Linked DNA regions of Homo sapiens: region 1 is linked to region 2. The links are contacts of gene promoters, found by promoter capture Hi-C in human tissues and cell types (Jung and others, 2019). All regions are on one chromosome and are shown on one strand. Each heading gives the region's core, a stretch centred on a gene start or on the middle of the fragment in contact. The rest is flanking DNA. Distances are from core to core; before and after follow the strand shown. Region 1 overlaps BBS9 (Bardet-Biedl syndrome 9). Region 2 holds the start of BMPER (BMP binding endothelial regulator).

The links. The method cuts DNA at HindIII sites, captures the fragments that hold promoters and counts their contacts. A contact is called where the count stands out against the background at its distance.
Region 1: a fragment that was not itself captured here is called in contact with the fragment with the promoter of BMPER in region 2 in 4 of the 25 tissues and cell types used here (dorsolateral prefrontal cortex, hippocampus, mesenchymal stem cells and 1 more).

Annotation. Positions count from the first base shown.
Region 1 is chr7:33,224,814-33,230,437 of GRCh38, forward strand. All of the region lies in intron 5 of BBS9 (Bardet-Biedl syndrome 9), which reads left to right. Among named protein-coding and RNA genes, the nearest start is that of BBS9, 98 kb to the left of the region's middle. The HindIII fragment of the contact is 7,781 bases long and covers 1-5,624 here.
Region 2 is chr7:33,902,947-33,908,423 of GRCh38, forward strand. BMPER (BMP binding endothelial regulator) reads left to right here and starts at 2,593. Exons shown (of 15, transcript NM_001365308.1): 1 at 2,593-2,800; 2 at 3,872-3,957. The coding sequence starts at 2,668. The HindIII fragment of the contact is 7,840 bases long and covers 1-5,477 here.

The sequences.
Region 1 (5,624 bases), core at 1,869-4,368, 680 kb before region 2:
AGTGTTTCATTCTTATGTGAGGAGGCACATGCTCCCTGGTTGTCTCTCTTTTTGAGGCAACAGTAGCCATTGATGATCTAGGCAGTGCTAGAGAGCTACTGATTTATTAGGGATTAAAATGGTTATATTATAATTTTTATTATGTAACGGAAATACATTTAAAGGAAGAAATCTCCCTTTATCAGCTAGTAGGTTACCCAGAGATATATTCTTAGGAGAAAGGCAGAATAAATGCTTTGTTGTTTCCCTGTTTTCAAAATTCAGGGTTGGTTCTCTAGCATCCTTTGAAGATGACAAATTAGTAGTTGTTGTTTTCATATTATAATAAACTAATGGATTTAAATATGTGATGCCTTTCAATTTATTGATATTATTGTTATTATTTGTTTATATTTATTTTTTGAGACAAGGTCACACTCTTTTGCGCAGGCTTGAATACCGTGGCATAATCACAGCTCACTGTGGCCTTGACCTCCTGGGCTGAAGTGATCCTCCCGCCTCAGCCTCCCAAGTAGTTGGGACCACTGGTACCTGCTACCATGCCTAACTTTTTGAAATATTTTTTCATAGAGATGGGGTCTTGCTATGTTGCCCAGGCTGGTCTTGAACTCCTGGCCTCAAGCAGTCCTTCTACCTTGGCCTCCCAAAGTGCTGGGATTATGGACATGTGCCACTGCACTCATCTGAAGTTATTATTTTTGTTAATGTCAATATTGTACAATCTTTAGCCAAGGGAGCTTTTCCCAGTTGGTTCATCAACCCTTTTGACATAGCTTCAGTAGTCTTTGTTAGCTTTCTTGCTTCGTATTATGAGATGTTCCTGCCTCATCTTTTATATTTCCTCTCCCAGAACTGGAATCAGCCACTTCTTTAAGGAGCTTGGTTCTTTTTTTTTTTTTTTTTGTGGGAAATGGCATTTGAAGATCACAGTGTGGGTGCTGGTGGTGTTCAGTACTCCTGCTGGTTATTGCTTCTGCACTGTTGTGGTGGATAGAGTTAGGAAATATACATACTTAGTATTTAAAGGTAAACTATATTATGGGTTCATATTGATACTCCCAATTATGATGCAGACCTACAGACATTTTACTTATCCTCATTGATTTTACATACATATATGTACACATGTGTGTGCATATGCACACATTTGTATATATATTTGCTGGAAGATGTTTTTAGATAAGCACCTTCAGTGGTTTTGTCTTCCAACATAGCCAAAGGTACAGCACACTCCCTTTAGTAATAATGCCTTGGTGGCAATGATTCTCATTCTTAAGGGAAAAAAGATATAGAGGGGGAACCTATAGATTCTCACTGGTGAGTGATTGTCAGTGCAGTTTGAAAAGTGATCCTTACTCTTTCCCCTTGATAATTTGTGACCCAGAAGAGGAAAATTTCTCATCTCTATAGTGGAGATTTTTTTTTTCCAGGAGAATTTTGTCTATTAACATTGGAGATGATTTTTAATGGCTTTTTGATCATTAGATGATAATCTGCTTTAGAGTTTAAACAAATACACAGGTCTACTTTTGTTACACATTCTTGTGATTTTATATCTGATAGGTCTTTTATTGATAAGTGTTAGATAAGTGCTGCTGGATTATAGAAAACTCTTCTACTTTCAATGTTATATAGAACAAACAAAAGGATACAAAATATGGCTAGAATGGCTAGAATTAATACTCAAAACAATTAAAAAATTATGATCCAGCAACTCCACTCTGTGTATATGTCCAAAAGAAGTAAAAGCAGGGATTAGGAAAGATATTTATACATCCTTGTTCATTGCAGCATTATTCACAATAGCCAAAAGGTGGAAGCAACTCAAGTGTTCAATGGATAAGTGGATAAACAAAATATGGTGTATATGTACAATGGAATATTATTTGACCACAAAAAGAATGGAGTACTGATATATGCCATAACATGGATGAACCTTGGAGATATTATGTTAAGTGAAATAAGCCAGTCACAAAAAAGACAAATATTGTATGATTCTTTTTACATAAGGTTCTTAGAGTAGAGTAGTCAGATTTGTAGACCCAAAATTGAATGGTGGTTTCCAGGGGCTTGGGAAAGGATAATGGGGAGTAGTATTTGATAGATACAAACTTTTGCTTAGGAAAGATGAAAAAGTTATGGAGATGAATGGTGGTGGATTGCACAATGCACTTATGAATGTACCTAATGCCACAGAACTGTACATTCTAAAATGGTTAAAATGGTATATTTTACCACAATTTTTAAAAACCACATAGCACCAAAAAAGAGTGAATGAGTAAATTTCAAAAAGCTGTGTCAAGAATGATAATATATTATGTAATTTGTTTAGGGACCTTACAGCCATCAATTTTTTTTTTTTTTGAGACACAGTTTCACTCTGTTGCCCAGGCTGGAGTTCTCAGCTCACTGCAACCTCCGCCTTCCAGGTTCAAGTGATTCTCGTGCTTCAGTCTCCTGAGTAGCTGGGATTACAGGCACACGCCACCATGCCTGGCTAATTTTTGTATTTTTAGTAGAGATGGGGTTTCACCATGTTGGCCAGGCTAGTCTCAAACTCTTGACCTCAAGTGATCCCCTGCCTTGATCCTCCAAAGTGCTGAGATTACAGGTGTGAGCCACTGCACCCGGCCTAATCTTTTTTAAAAAATTAAAAAAAAGTTAATAGTTCTTTGGGAATGGGTGGTTTTTGGTTACATAGATAAGTTCTTTAGTGGCAATTTCTGGGATTTTGGTGCACCTGTCAGCTGAGCAGTATACAGTGTACTCAATATGTGGTCTTTCATCCTTCACCCCATTCCCAACCTTCCCCCTACCCCCAAAGTCCTCTATATCATTCCTATGCTTTTGCATCCTCATAACTTAGCTCCCACTTATGAGTGACAACATACGATATTTGGTTTTCTATTTCTGAATTACTTCACTTAGAATAATGGCCTCCAGCTCCATCCAAGTTGCTGCAAAAGACATTATTTTGTTCCTTTTTATGGCTCAGTAGTACTCCATGGTGTATATATACCATATTTTCTTTATCTACTTGTTGGTTAATGGGCACTTAGGCTGATTCTATATCTTTGCAATTGTGAATTGCATTGCTGATATAAACACACATGTTTATGACCATGTGTGCACATGTGTCTTTTTCATATAATGACTTCTTTTCCTTTGGGTAGATATCCAGTAGTGGCATTACTGGATTGAATGGTAGTTCTACTTTTAGTTCTTTAAAGAATTTCCATACTGTTTTCCATAGTGGTTGTACTAATTTACATTCTCACCAGCAGTGTAAAAGTGTTTCTTTTTCACCACATCCATGCCAATATCTATTATTTTTTGGCTTTTTAATTGTGGTCATTCTTGTAGAAATAAGGTGCTATATCTCATTGTGGTTTTAATTTGCATTTCCCTGATAATCAGTGATGTTGAGCATTTTTTCATGTTTGTTGACTGTTTGTATATCCTTTTTTGAGAATTGTCTATTCATGTCGTTTGCCCTTAAATCCTTCAATATTTATTTAGTTGAAGCAATTAAAAATAAAATAAATATTAATTTGAAATAAAAATCCTTAACAGCTAGATTATATTTTCTTTTATTCAAATTCAGAAACCTTTTCATTTTCTTTCTTCCAGAAGATTTAGTCACAAAAGGAAGAGGAATAACTTTCTCTATACAGTTGACCATTGAACAGTGTGGGGGTTAGGGATGCTGACCCCTCCTTTAAGTCAAATATCCACGTATAACTTTTGACTCCCCCGAAAATTAACTATTATTAGCCTACTGTTGCCTTACTGATAACATAAACAGTTGATTAACACATATTTTCTATGTTATTTGTGTTTTATATGGTATTCTTACAGTAAAGTCAGCTATAGTAAAAAAGTTATTAAGAAAATCATAAGGAAGGGAAAATATATTTACAGTTCATTGAGTCTAAGTGGGTTATTATACAGGTCTTCATCTTTGTCATCTTCACGTTGAATAGGCTGGGGAGGAGGAGAAAGAGGAGGTGACCCCTCTTCAGGTAACCCCAATTTTGCTGTCTCAGGGGTGGCAGAGGTGGAAGAAACTCCACGTATAAGGGGACCCACACAGTTCAAACAGTTGTTGTTCAAGGGTCAGCTGTATTTTTATATCTCCTGACATGAAGTTATAATTTGTTTTTGAGATGTACAGAGGGAAATGAAAACAGAGAATTAAAATTGAGGATGAAGACTTAGGCTTTATTTATTTTAACTTTCAAAAGTAAATTTTATTATGTATATTTAAGGTATACAACATGATTTATGAGTTACATATAGGTATTAAAAAGATTACTATAGTGAAACAAATTAACATATCCATCATCTCACTTAGTTACCCATTTTTCTTTCATTTCTGTGGCAAGAGCAGCTAAAATCTACTCATTTAGCATAAATCCCAAATACAATATAATTTTATTATCTATAGTCTTCATGTTTTACATTAGTTCTCTAGACCTGTTTATTGTACATATCTGCTACTTTTTATACTCTGACTTCATATCCTTGTATACTTCTAATTTCTAATTGTGTATTCTGTCTCCCCATTTTCTCCCCCTGCCATCTGCCCCTGGAAACCACTGTTTTGTTCTATGTATTGGAGTTTTGTTTTGTTTTGCTTTTTTTACATTCTGCATATAAGTGAGAACATGCAATGTATTTTTTTCTGTGTCTGGCTTATTTCCTTTTGCATAATATCCTCCATGTTGATCCATGTTGTGGCAAATGGCAAGATCCCATTCTTTCTTAGATAACAAATATTTATAGTAATACAATAATAATATTCCATTATAACTATATACCACAGTTTCTTTATCCATTTGTCCACTGATGCACACTTATGTTGTTTCCATATCATGGCTATTGTGAATAATGCCGCAATAAACATGGAAGTGCAAATGTCTTTGCAAGATGGTGATTTCATTTCATTTGGGTATATGCCCCGAAAAGGGATTTCTGGGTCATGTGATCATTCTATTTTTAATTTTTTTGGAAACCTCCATCCTATTTTCCATAATGGCTATATCAATTTACATTTCCACCAACGGTATACAAGAGTTCCCCTTTCTCTACACCACTGCCAACATTTGTTGTTTTTTGCCTTTTTGATAATAGCCATCTAACGGGTGTGAGGAACTATCTCATAGTGGTTTTGATTTGCAGTTCCCTGATGATTAATGATGTTGAGCACCTTATCATATACGTCTTGGCCATTTGTATGTCTTCTTTGGAGAAATGTCTATTTATGTCTTTTGCCCATTTAAAAATCAGATTGTTTTGATACTATTGAATTGTATAAGTTCTTTATAAATTTTGGATATTCACTCCTTGTGAGATATATGGTTTGTAAATATTTTTCCCAGCCTGTAGGCTACCATTTCGTTGATTGTTTCCTTTGCTGTATAGAAGCTTTTTAGTTTGACTGTAGTCTGATTTATTTATTTTTGCTTTTGTGGCCTTCTCTTTTGGTGTGATTTCCAAGAAATCATTGCCAAGGCCAATGTCCAGGAGCTTTCCCACTGTGTTCTCTTAGAGAAGTTTTATAGTTCCTGGTCTTATATTTAGGTCTTTTATCCATTACATTTTTTAAAAAAAATTTTCAATAA
Region 2 (5,477 bases), core at 1,343-3,842:
ATGGGAAAACATCTTGATAAGGCCTTGGAGAAAAGGCTGCTCTTTCGGAAGCAGGGCCCATTTGCCAAGAAGGCAGCAAGGGAAATCGCTGGTGGCAGAGGCTTATAACAAACAGGAAGAAGAGACAGGTTTGCCAAAGGCTTCTGTGCATTTTTCCCCTTCGCAAACTTTCAGACAGATGAAAATGTTTTTAAGGTGGTTTTTGGGTTTGCACCTACAGGGAGAGTTCCAGTGCATTCCAAAGCACCATGCTGCACATTATGGAAATGCCACACACAGCTAGATTCTATCATAAAGAAATTTGTCATGCAAATTCTGAGGATGTTTGGCTGGTGTCAGGGAGGGAAGGCATATCAAAGTAACTCAGGCACACCCTTCAAATGTCTTGCAATTTCATAGCATGCATTTATCCAAATTTATGGCTAAGGCAACAAAAGGTCTCCCAGCTTCCTTATTCTTCAGCTTTCCATAATTAAATTATGATAAACAACTTTATCTAAAAGCCTCATCCAGGGACAATCTTTTTAGATAGAGGAGATAGTGGTTCCAACTGATTGTACTTATCTGCAGCAATAAAGGTTTCTATTTATTTAATTTTTAATTTTAATTTTATTTATTTTTTAATGAGTCCCTGGGAAGTAAGGCTGGATTTAGAGATTTTTCTCTTTTTGCATATTATCTTTATGATTAGTAAATACATAAACACACTGGTTTCCGAGAAGCTGCCTGGCCATGGCTTTATTTGGGTGGGGGGAGGGAGGGAAGGAATCACACATCAGCCTTCTCTTTCAATTTAAATTTTACGGTAAGAATCTATTTTGGGAGGGAAATGGAGCATGCTAAGCTAATGACAGTTTTCCCTTCTCTTATTTTTCCCACGTCACAGCAACGTGCTCGCATCAGCTCCTCGGTGTGTCGCGATGTTGGCAATGTTGCACTAATTAAGTGAAGTCTCCAAATCACTCGAAAAAACGAATAAACAGTCAACGAGGCAGGGAAGGGTTAAGGTGAAGCTAGATTAAACCTGTCAGCAAACAGACTCATTTATTTTCAAAGCTGTAGTTTCCACAATGGAAACAACCCACTTTGCCTGGAGACCCTTAGGTCCGTTCCGTGGGGACCCGGTTTCAACTCTTGGACAGAGGAAGTCGGTAGTCCACCGTGAGCTCAAGGACAGCTAGCTGATCGTCAGGTCCCAACACTTGCCAAGCGTCCCTCACTCCCACCTCGCGCCTTCGTACTTTGGTTACAAAAATCATCTCTCTGCGATTGCACCCCTTTTGAGTAGAGGGTGCCACTGCGTGGGGAGGAGGCGGCGATTCAGCAGGGGGATCACAGGAGCTGACTCCCCGACACCCAGTGCTGCAGAGGCGAGAGGGCGCAGCCGGGCTGAGAGAGCGACGGAGCTCCGAGCTGCAGAGGCCGCCGCGCGGCGGCCCCCGCCAGAGATGAGCGGTGGGGCGGGGGTTCCTCCCTCTTTTCGGGTGAATGAATGATTAGTCAAACACCACCTCCCCGCCCCGGTCCGCCCGAGATTGGAAGGGAGGAGTCTCGGAGCGACTGTTCATTTTTTAAGGACGAAAGGCGTTTGCCTCGGTACGTTTTTAAATCGACCTTGTGTGTGTTTCAACTTCGGTCATCCCTAGTGTCAGGACGCGCAGACAGCTAAGCACAGAACACATCTCTAAGGCCACTTGCCCCTCTGTCCGCTCAGCCCCCTGAGTTCGCTGTCGCGCCCCCGCCAGAGGGAAGCAAAGCAGGGCATGAAAAGTTGCGGGGGCCCTACTGCCCCGGGTGTGTCGCTCCTTCCCAAAGGTGGGGCACCCGGGAGCGAGCAGGGTGGTGGGGCGCCCCTGCGTCCCGTTTGCTGCTCCCTCGCTGGATTGGGGCACCCGGGCCTGAGCGCTAGTGCTGCGGCATCCCCGGGGCTCCCCCAAGAAAGGGAGGAGGAGCCGCGCTCGCCCGGACAGTGGAGACGCGCCTTCTCGGCTCTGGTCCGCGCCCTGGGGCCCTGGCCTCCCTGGAGGGGCTGGGGAACTGGAAGCTGGGCCGAGAGAGTTCCCGCTGCAGCTATCGCGCAGTCCCTCCTGCGCCCGGGCGCCCCCAGCGGGTTCCGGGAGGCGCCCGGTGAGCCCACGTCTGTTGCGGCGGAGCGAGCGCGCTCCGGGAGGGCCGAGAGCCGGCGGGGCTGGCAGGAGGTGAGGAGTGCGGGAGTGGAGGACGCTGCGGCAGCGACAGCGACAGCCCCCGAAACAGTAGCGGCAGCCCGGGCGGCGGCTGAGCGGCAGTGCGCAGTCGGCAGCGCCGCAGCTCCTCTCAGTCTATCTCCGGCTGCCGCAACACCCCTTCCTCCTGGCCCCCTCTCCGGCGCTGAGGGGCTGACTGCTAAGCCACTGCAAGCAACTCCCTCAGGAAAAAAAAAAAAAAAGCCGCATCGGAGGAGCCTGGCCGCAGGACCCCTCCTCCCCGGGCGCCCCCACACCTTGGTCTCTCCCCCCGCCCTCCCTCACACCCCCCCGCCCCCCAGCTCTCGGGCGCCCGCCTCCCTCCTTCGCGGACGGTCTCCCGACACGCCGGCTGAGAGCCCTTTTCGACTGTGAGCTGCGGCAGCTGAGCAGAGGCGGCGGCGCGGGACCTGCAGTCGCCAGGGATTCCCTCCAGGTGACGATGCTCTGGTTCTCCGGCGTCGGGGCTCTGGCTGAGCGTTACTGCCGCCGCTCGCCTGGGATTACGTGCTGCGTCTTGCTGCTACTCAATTGCTCGGGGGTCCCCATGTCTCTGGCTTCCTCCTTCTTGACAGGTAGGGGAGGGGGCGGGAGGGACCGGCCCTCCGGGACGCCGGTTTGGTACCTGGGAAAGGTGGCGCTGGCTTGCCCCGGGGATGGGAGGGTGGGGAGCGCGCACCTTGGCGCTTGCCCTGCGCTGGTCGATGGGGATGAAGCGAAGCCCCGGGAGGGCTGGGAAGGCTGGTGAAGAGGTTGCGGGCTGAGAGGCTGTTGCCTTCAATGTAGTAATAATAGACATTCTTCTATTTGAATTTGAGAAATTATTTTATTTATTTTTAATGCTTTCCTCAACTTTTATTTTAATCTTTCCCTCTGTAGAACTCAGGAAAAAAATTTGTGCAGTTTTCCGCACATCTTCCTTTCTCATCTTTGGGGTTGCAATACATCCACTGTGCTAGGAGTGCTTTTTAAAGCACTGGCTCTCAAGACCTTGAATTTAAAGAAACTATCATTTAAAAAGGGCACTAATAGCCGGATATAATAATTATATGTTTTCAGGCAGGTGAAGACCTCAGCTGCTATTCTGAAGGACATACTTTACTGACACCTGGTGCAGAAAAGAAAATATGGAGTCAATTTCTAAGAGAAGGGAAAAGGGGATTGCGTTTCAAAAAGTGATTTAAACCTAAGACAATGCGAGACAGATTCATAGAAAGGCCTGTTTATTGACTCAGTTCTGAGTTTTGGTCAATTTAAAATCTGCCCCAATTTGAGGGTTTTTTTAAATTTTATTTTTTATTTTTTTCTTTGCGTATGGGGCTGTGTGCTTAGTTGAAATATCTTCATAAAGGAGGAGTGTTATTAAAAATCCAGTGAAATACTTGGAATTGTGCTTAGACCATCTGAGAACAGATAATTTATCCCTATATCATAGTCTTTTCTTTTTTGAACCTGTTTAAATAAAATTATTGAAAATGGAGTTGGGGGCAGAGGTTTTGCTTTGGTGAATTTAATAATTTAAACCACATTAAGAATTCTGAAGTTTGGGTAGAGGTTTCAAAAAGGATTAGTGTAAAAATTTTAAATGTTGAAATCATGCTGCTAAGCTAACTTTAAATGAAACATTTTTCCCCCCTGAATTTCAGGTTCTGTTGCAAAATGTGAAAATGAAGGTGAAGTCCTCCAGATTCCATTTATCACAGACAACCCTTGCATAATGTGTGTCTGCTTGGTAAGTGTGGAGATCAGGTAATATGAACTCAACTGCTCTCTCTGATAAGGTGAATCCATTAAATGTGATAATATAACCAGATCTTACAAATTGTCTTTATCATTACAAAATTGCACATAACTGTACATAGTTTGTGAGTTGAATCCAGTTAATTTCTGAGTTTTATGGACTTTGGCAATTTCCATTTCATCCAGCTGGAAATTCTTATCTTTGACATCATCCTTATAGACGTAAATTTCAGATAGGCTTTGTATGACGTCTCGGTGAAATGACAGTTTGTAATGTCTGTTTCCAGTAATGATTACTACAACCAAATTCTTGGGACAACAAAACTTTCTGCGTTGGTTCTGTCATTTAAGCTCAGTGGGAAAATGATGAGATAAGATTTAAGTATGAAGGTCAGGAATAAGGTATGCGACAAAGGGAAAGAGAGGTGACAGCCACAAAAAACAAACATAAGGACAAGATGTAATTCTGGATTTCTTTCTCGGGTTTCTTTGCCTGTTATACCCTAAACCCTCAAATACTGTCTTTATTTCTGATTTGGAAGCATGAGTCGGAAAGGACAATTCCATCCTTAATAGAGAATGACACTTGGCTGTCAGCTGCTTAGTTAACACTATCAGTGGTTAGAAGACTCAAAAAATAATTTGTTTCCATTTATTTTAGTTTAGTAGTTAATGATAAGTCTAATAAGTAACCACTTGGGGGAGATTAAGTAATGTGAATAAGAATTTCTGAGATGAAATATAGACCTACAAGGTAAACATTTTTGCTTAGGAGTGTTTTACATGCCAATCACTTTTGGCAAAATTTGGTTAGAAACTACACATTATAAAACCTTGTTGGAAATACATTAAGGCAGTCAAATGCAAAGCCCCAGAATGATAGAGGACTACTTGTTGCTAGATCAGCATGCTGTGTGGCGCTGGAGAAGGAATTCATTTCGGTTTAGGCAAAAGCCAAGCTATCTGAGTTTATACTACATAAATTTTTTCATGACAAGAGTTGAGGTCAATGTTTTGAAGTGATAAATGGGTGAAGGTAAATGGCTGTATCAAACAATTATCAGGTTCGGAAGACTAAGGAAATCAACAGAAACAAGTAAAAACGCACTGCGTTTGCTGACACAATAAATATTGCTGCCTAATAAAACAGAGCTGAGAGAGGGTGTATTATGATTGCATATTTATGGGTTGCTGTGTTCATTGATGATCTTTTAGTAAATAATTTGTTGAAAAGAAGCTTTCAGTTTAAATTTTGACTCAGTTGTAGATTTACAAATGCAGTGTGTGTGTATGTGTGTTTAATCTTCCTTTTTTATTTTTCTTATCTGTGTAATGTGAGTGAATTATTTTATCTTAATCTATTAAGATTTCAGAGGAAATTACCTTGACCAAGTAATATTTAAATGTGCCGAGAGCTTTGCATATAAATATATTGTTTTCACTTCAGCAATATTAGTACTTATCAAGCTTACGTATGTAGTTTGAGTTTTGTAAACTGTTCCCAAATAACAT